2 separate regions of the Homo sapiens genome follow, and region 2 is linked to region 1. Evidence: promoter capture Hi-C in 16 types of primary human blood cells and fetal thymus (Javierre and others, 2016). All regions are on one chromosome and are shown on one strand. Each heading gives the region's core, a stretch centred on a gene start or on the middle of the fragment in contact. The rest is flanking DNA. Distances are from core to core; before and after follow the strand shown. Region 1 holds the start of TMC1 (transmembrane channel like 1). Region 2 has its middle 57 kb from the start of ZFAND5.

Region 1 (4,233 bases), core at 63-2,562:
GATGCTGTTCACAAAAAGTGCATGTAGTTCCATGTGTTTTATTTAGTCTGTTTGAAATGAAGTTTAGCATATCTATAGCACACAGCATGAAACATGTCAGTCATTTTGAATTTAACATTGTGCATAATGTATTCATAAGAATTATATTTATTTATTAGCATTTATCTTCAAATCAAAGGTTAAAAGTTTCAAGATGCACAAAAATGGTTAACTTTCTGTGAGAAGTCTGAGAAATCACTGAAGACATGAAAATGACAGGCTGGAGGAAGAAGTAAAGAACCTAGAAGGCCAAAATGGAATTCTAAGATAACATGAATATAGAACATAGAAAAGAGAAAGGATTGATTGAAAAAAGGAAAGGGGAAAAAAAAGGAATTATTAAATGGAAACATTAGATTCAAGTAAACCCAAAACAATCATCAAAGTAGATGTTAACAGCATTTTGAGTACATGTTGTGAGTATGAGAAGTGCAATTCTAAATGTTAGGCCCTTATGTTTTAACATATCAGCAAATACAATATTTTGTTTCTAATTTAACAAATTTTTAAGACTTATGTTAGTTGTGACATATTTCCAATAAATAATTATGTTTCCCAAGGACACTGGGTACAATAAAGTGGGTCTGACAATTAACTTACCTTTGAAACCTGAGCCCTTCATTAGTTACAGGAATAGACTGGAACATGATTTTTCCTCTCCTGCTTGGAGAACCCACAAGTTGTGTTTTCTTTATGAATATTGGAAATTCTTTCTTTTAGCCAAATGAAGGGTGTGCATTTCTTCGGCCAGGAGTTACCAGGCTGATAATCCTGATGCAGCGGTTCTCAAAGTCTCCTCAGAAGGCCCGCAGTAGCACCAGCAGCACCAAAGGACTTGTTGGAAACACCAGTTTTCTAGGCCGGGCACAGTGGCTCATGCCTGTAATCCCAGCACTTTCGGAGGCCGAACTCCTGAGGTCAGGAGTTTTGAGACCAGCCTGGCCAACATGGCAAAACCCCGCCTCTACTAAAAATACAAAAATTAGCCGGGTGTAGTGGCGGGCACCTGAAATCACAGTTACTTGGGAGGCTGAGGCAGGAGAATCACTTGAACCTGGGAGGCAGAAGTTGCAGTGAGACAAGATCACACCATTGCACTCCAGCCTGGGCGACAAGAGCAAAACCTCTGATTAGAAAAAAAAAAACAAACAGGCGCCGTGGCTCACGCCTATAACCCCAGCACTTCAGGAGGTTGAGGTGGGCGGATCACCTGAGGTCAGGAGTTCAAGATCAGCCTGGCCAATAGAGTGAAACCCCGCCTCTACAAAAACATGATGGCGCGCGACTGTTTCCCATCTACTCAGAGGCTGAGGCGGGAGAATCGCTTGAACCCGGAAGGCGGAGGTTGCAGTGAGCTGAAATCACGCCATTGCGCTCCAGCCTGGGTGACAGAGCAAGACTCCGTCACAAAAAAAAAAAGAAAAAAGAAACACCAGTTTTCTGATTTCACCGAAGACCTACTGCCTCAGAAACTATGAGGGCAGAACCCAGCAATCTGTGCTTTCTTTCACAAGCCCTCCAGGAGTTGCTGAAATTTAGGAATCATTGCCCCAAAAAGTGGCCCTCATAATGATGCCAGGTAAGGAAAGACAACATTATTACCTATGTGTGGTGTGTTAACATTCTTTATGAAACATGTGTGAAGACCTAAATCGAAGACTTTCTCCATGAGATATTCCCTAATCACATTAGTGAAATAAAACTATATTTCCTCTACTTTTCTACTGCTACAGAAATCTCCCCCAGTTAGGATAGTCCCAGTTTCCTATTTATCTTTGTTTTTCTTGCAGTGCACAGCATGTCACCCAGTAATTGATAAGTTTTTTTTTTTTTGAGACGGAGTCTTGCTCTGTCTCCCAGGCTGGAGTGCAGTGGCGCGATCTCGGCTCCCCAAGTAGCTGGGACTACAGGCGCCCGCCATCACGCCCGGCTAATTTTTTGTATTTTTAGTAGAGACGGGGTTTCGCCGTGTTAGCCAGGATGGTCTCGATTTCCTGACCTCGTGATCCGCCCGCCTCAGCCTCCCAAAGTGCTGGGATTACAGGCGTGAGCCACCGCACCTGGCCTAATTGATATGTTTAAATGTTAAAATTAAATGCAATGATTTCCTAAAATAAACAAATGTGGGACAATTTATTGCACTCTGTTCAAATTCCCATTTTGAAGTGGAATTCAAACAAACATGACAGTAAAGGGGGACAGTGAGCACAGGGACAAGAGAAAAGGAGAAAGGGAAGAAATACAGAGAACTAGATAGGAGGAAGTGTCAAAGACTGATGGGTGTAAGCCACCTTTACCTCTGGATATTGGTTTTCCTTTGAATTGTGGTATGTGGTCATATTGCTTATTAGTTATAACATACAGCTGTCAGAAGAGTTTTTCAATTAAAATTTCAAATGTAATATTAAAACTGTTTGGATTCCTTCCTACTGGGCACTGGACACTGTCTGTGGAGCTGCTGGAACAGCGCTGAATAGGGTCATATTTTAAAGGAACTCAGCCTAGTGCAGTTTCTCAACCTTAGCACTATTGGCCTTTGGGGCCTGATAATCCTTTTTTGTGAGGGGCTGTCCTGTGCACTGTAGGATGTTTAGCAGCATCCTTGGCTTCTACTCAGTAGATGACAGTATCAACCCCCTTCCCCAGAAGTGACAATTAAAAATGTCTCCAGACTTTTCCAAATGTCCCCTGAGGAGCAAAATTGTCTCCAGTTGAAAACCACTGGGTTAGTGGGAGAAACAGATAAGACAGAAGTTCTCCATACACCATGATAATGCCATGATGCCATAGGGCTGGCAGGAGTGAAGGGAAGAGCATCTCACAAAGACTCGGGGGGATGCAGGGAGGAGGAAAAATTAGGAAATGAAGTGGGCTGAGTTGCAGTTAGCCTGTGGGGAAAATGAAGGAGAAGGGATAAGGAAGAAGAGGAGGAAGGAGGGAGGAAGAGTGAGGAGTAATAGGGAATTATAGTTGACCTTGAACAACTTGGGGTTTAGGGATGCCGACCCTTGCGTAGTCAAAAATCTGAGCTTAACTTTTGACTACCCTCACACTTTCCTAACAGCCTACTGTTGACCAGATGCTTTACCAATAACATAAACAGTTTATTAACACATATTTTGTATGTTTTATGTATTATACACTGTATTCTTACAATAAGGTAAGCTAGAGAAAAGAAAATGCTATTAAGAAAATTGTAAGGAAGAAAAAATATATTTACTGTTCATTAAGGGGAAGTAGATCATCATAAAGCTCTTCATCCTTGTCATCTTCAAGTTGAATAGGCTGAAGGAGGAGGGGGAGAGAGAAGAGACTGGCCTTGCTGTCTTAGGGGTGGCAGGGATGGTAGAGGTGCAGGAGGTGGAAGGGGAGGCAGGAAAGGCAGGCACACTCGGGGTAGCTTTCGTTGAAAGAAATCTTCATATGAGTGGACCCATGCAGTTCAAACCTGACTTGTTCAGAGTCAACTGTACTTGTTCCAGGCTAAGAACAGAGAATAAAAAAAAAATGTATAGAGGCCTGAAACAGCATATTATATTAAAAGAACTCAAAGCCGGTAAATGCTTTGCTACTGAAGCATAAAGTGAGAAAGGGGCATCATGGGCTCTGAAATTGCAGCCACAAGTCTACAGAACACATTTTTCATAGCCCAAGGTCAGTCTTCTATTACCCTTTGCAGTGAGGTTATCATCATCCATTTTCACTCGTCAGTGCTGGGGAGCCCATTAAATACTTGCCACTATACTTGGTCCCAACAGTTAATAGACTGTAGCATCTTTTATTTCTTCACCTAGCCTGAAATCAGTTGAGCTTTTGCAGAATCTTAGATATGTCGTTTTTTTCTTCAGGTTTAGAATGGGGCACTTAAAAAGATGCATAGTACTTGAAAATAGAGAAAGAAAATAGCATGTAGAAATTTGTGCCTTTATTCTGCCCAAACGTCTCAAAAAGGAAAAAAATAATTTTAAGGGTAAATATTGTCATCAATTTATCTGAGCTCTTTTGACTTCCTTTGAGCCTGAAAAACAGGATCAGTGTCTTTTTAGTATTTACCATAGTGCCTGATATGTAGAAGGTGTTTGACCAATGTTTATTAGATAAATGTTCACTTTTATTACTAGTAATATTAACCACATTTTAATAGAGACTAATAATACATGATAAACTTCTCAAGGATGCGATCTCATTTGATCA
Region 2 (4,057 bases), core at 825-3,324, 100 kb before region 1:
TAGCCAGGCGTGGTGGTGGGCACCTGTAATCGCAGCTACTCAGGAGGCTGAGGCAGGAGAATCGCTTCAACTCAGGAAGTGGAGGTTGCAGTGAGCCAAGATCATGCCATTGCACTCTAGCCCGGGTAATAAGAGTGAAACTCCATTTCAAAAAAAAAAAAGAGAGATAAAATCATCAAATAAATCTGACTAGAACTTGGAGTCAAGAGACCCGAATTTAATTCATGACCATGAAACATCCATTTTAAAGCACTGATTTTTGACCAAGGGCAAGTGGCTCGTGCCTGTAATCCCAACACTTTGGGAGGCTGAGGCAGCAGGATCACTTGAACTCAGGAGTTCAAGACCAACCTGGGCAACATAGGGAGACCCTATCTCTAAAAAAAAAAAAAAAAAAAAAAAAAAATTAGCCAGGCCTGGTGGCCCACCCTATAGTCTCCTCTACTTAGGAGGCTCAAGCAGGGGCCCACTTGAGCCCAGGAGGTTGGAGCTGTAGTGAGCTGTGATTGCACCACAGCACTCCAGCCTGGGCGACAGAGCAAGACCCTATCACATACACAATGTTAAAATAAAATAAAAAGACCAATTTTCGGTGTGGTAAAATGGGAAAATAATCACCAGTTCTTCTTATCTCTTAGTCTTGTCATGAGGTTCATTTTAGTCTCATTTGTTTATTTGCTCAACAAGCATTTATCAAATTTGGGCTGCCTGTTTGTAAGAAAGAGCTTTATAGTTAAAATAATTACTGGAAGGAGATATAGGTTTTTGAAATTTTTTCACAATGACCTGATATGTAAGTTTAAACTCTTGAGGGTGACCCTCATTTCCAAAGATCGCCAGAATAGATTTGAATTAAAATGAGATGTTTCCTTTCTCCAGCAAATATGAAATGAGTGTTAGTAGATAAGGGCATTAACATTAGAAATAGAAGGTGTCATTTTTCATTTAGTAACTTGAACACATAGAAAATCCACCTTTAACACATTATTATTGTTTATAAAGTGTTGGCAATACACATGGTACCTTGCAAAGTAGAAGTAGAAATGACAAGATCCTTTCCCCAAGGAGCTCAGATCATAACATTGTTGAACAAATCTACACAGCACAGCAGTATTGTGCATAATTGAGCTGATATGGTGGGAGAGGTCAGACTAGGGCTGTGGGCTGAAGATGTATAAAATGAGCCATTTGAAGCCAGGGGTTTGGGTGCTGGAAAGGCAGGAGGAAGGGTGTGCTTCAGACTGCTCCATGGTATCAAATAAAAAGTGTAGACAAAACAGGAACATAGAAATGTGAGTCAAGTGTGCCCACTTTTTGAGAAGTTGCTCAAAAAGAGTGCATTAGACTTGATTTCTTTTCTCCCTTGTCATTTTAAGCAGCAGCCTGTCTTAGTCTTTTTATGCTGCTATAACAAAGTGTCTGAGACTGGGTAATTTATAAAAAACAAAAATTTATTTCATATGATTTTGGAGGCTGGGAAGTCCAAGATCAAGGTGCTTACACATTTGATGTCTGGCTGAGGACCTTCTTGCTGCGTCCTCACATGGTGCAAAGGGGAAAAGGGCAAAAGAGGGATGAATGCTATGTCCTCACATGGCAGAAGAGACTGAAGGGGGAAAAAGGGTCTAGCTGGTTCCCTCCAGCTCTTTTACAAGGTCACTAATCCTATGTATGAGGGCTTTGCCCTCATGACTGAATTGCTTCCTAAAGGCCCCAGCTTTTTTTTTTTTTTTTTTTTTTTTGAGACAGAGTCTTGCTCTGTTGCCCAGGCTGGAGTGCAATGGCACGATCTTGGCTCACTGCAGCCTCCACCTCCCGGGTTCAAGCGATTCTCTTGCCTCAGCCTCTGGAGTAGCTGGGATTACAGGTGCCTGCCACCATGCCTAGCTAATTTTTGTGTTTTTAGTAGAGACGGGGTTTCACCATGTTTGCCAGGCTGGTCTCGAACTCCTGACCTCAGGTGATCCCCCTGCCTCGGCCTCCCAAAGTGCTGGGATTACAGGCGTGAGCCACCGTGCCCAGCCAGCCCCAGCTTTCTAAACTATCACACTGAGGTTGAAGTTCCAAAATGAATTTTGGAGGGACACATACATTAAAACATAGCAAAGCCCTTGGAAACTTCTTTGCCTGAGCTGCACCAATGAACATAGTTTTCTTCATGTCTGGTTTATAGATGAAGGATGAGAGTGGGCAGCAGGATATGCTGCCAGGGATGTTCGATAGCAGGGTTCACAGTAAGGGGGAAAGTCACAGTCTATATAGGTTTTGGCAATAGGACAACAAGTGCGGTGAAAAAGGGAAAGTTGTCTGAATCTCCATGATGTTTCTTTTTTTTTTTTTTTTTTTTTTTGAGATGGAGTCTCGCTCTGTCACCCAGGCTGGAGTGCAGTGGCGCGATCTCGGCTCACTGCAAGCTCCGCCTCCCAGGTTCGTGCCATTCTCCTGCCTCAGCCTCCCCAGTAGCTGGGACTACAGACGCCCGCCACCACGCCCGGCTAATTTTTTGTATTTTTAGTAGAGACGGGGTTTCACTGTGTTAGCCAGGATGGTCTCCATCTCCTGACCTCGTGATTCGCCCGCCTCAGCCTCCCAAAGTGCTGGGATTATAGGCGTGAGCCACCGCGTCCGGCCTTAAATCCCCATGATGTTTTATGCTTGGCATTGATCATGCAGCCCTGCATGCTAATGGAGCTGTCAGAGTAAGTCCTTTGCCCTTTGCCTAACGTTATCTCCACCACTGTGTGTTTACCCTCTTGTAGCCAGAGTTGGTATTAAATCATCATGACGTCCTTTCCAATACACTTCTGAGTCCTCTAATTTTCTCGTAGTTTGAGTTGTAATAATAACAACTAATATTTGTTGCACACTTAGTCTCTGCCAGGCAGTGTTCAAAGCACTTTACATATAATACCTCTCTTATTCCTTATGAAAAGAATTAGTAGAAAACTCCACTTTGTAGGTGAAGAAATGGAAGCTCAAAAAGATTAAGGGATTTGCTCATGGTCACTCAGCTATTAAGTGGTAGAGTGGGATTTGAGCTCAACTTTTCTTGTCTCTGTCCTTCTTTTTGACCACCTAACTACTACTGGCTCCCAGGAGGCCTCATTGAAGCTGGAAAGAGGTGGGGATTGGGAAAAATGGAATTGCAGACTCAGAAGCACCTCATAACATCATCCCTTCTTATTGCCCACTCCCAGAAAGCATCCCCTGGATGTCATCTTTGACAATTGTCACTTTGCTTCTCCTCAGACACTACAGGTGATCCAGAATGTGGTGCCACATGAGGCAACCTAGTCCATTTTTAGACAGCAGTGATTGTCACCCAGTTTTCCCATATTTTGAACAGAAATAATTTATCTCCCTAACTTCACCTACTTGTCCTAGTTCTGTTTTCTGGAGCTCTACCAAATAAAACTATTTTTCTTCTGATGGATAAATTTAAGTATTTGTAGATGCCAGGGAATTTGGAACAGTTTCCTACTACACCCCAAGCTCCTTTCCCTATTTGCAGAAGAAATGCAGGGGTTCATTCTCCACTTGGGCCAGTGCTTTGCGTTCATTTCTGTGAGCAGCTTATTATGTGTGCCTATTAACCCAGAAGGACACAATTGTGCATAGGAAAGTAGCTTTGTTTTACGGTTCAATTGATTGGAACAATAAGTACACCTCTGTGTGGTCTTCATAGTTTATTATGATTATGATTATGGTTATGATTATTTTGAGATGGGGTTTCTCTCTTGTAGCCCAGGCTGGAGTACAATGGCACGATCTCAGCTCACTGCAACCTCTGCCTCCCAGGTTCAAGCGATTCTCCTGCCTCAGCCTCCTGAGTAGCTGGGATTACAGGCGCCCACCCCCATGCTAGGCTAATTTTTGTATTTTTAGTGGAGACGGAGTTCGCCATGTTGGCCAGGCTAGTCTCAAACTCCTGACCTCAGGTGGTCCACCTGCCTTGGCCTCCCAAAGTGCTGGGATTGCAGGAGTAAGCTACTGCGCCCAGCCCATAGTTTATTATTTTACTTAATTTTTTCAAGACATTGGCTTTGAGTATGGCCCT

Evidence for each region. Contacts are between HindIII fragments. The CHiCAGO score rates a contact against its expected background, and 5 or more counts as called.
Region 2: a fragment that was not itself captured here is called in contact with the fragment with the promoter of TMC1 in region 1 in 3 of 17 cell types (M0 macrophages, M1 macrophages and M2 macrophages); the score reaches 7.4 in M0 macrophages.

The regions. Positions count from the first base shown.
Region 1 is chr9:72,520,296-72,524,528 of GRCh38, forward strand. TMC1 (transmembrane channel like 1) reads left to right here and starts at 1,313. Exons shown (of 24, transcript NM_138691.3): 1 at 1,313-1,618. LOC101927234 (a long non-coding RNA gene) reads right to left here. Exons shown (of 3, transcript XR_001746721.3): 3 at 3,123-3,522. The HindIII fragment of the contact is 6,235 bases long and covers 1-4,233 here.
Region 2 is chr9:72,419,693-72,423,749 of GRCh38, forward strand. No RefSeq gene overlaps it. Among named protein-coding and RNA genes, the nearest start is that of ZFAND5, 57 kb to the left of the region's middle. The HindIII fragment of the contact is 5,180 bases long and covers 1-4,057 here.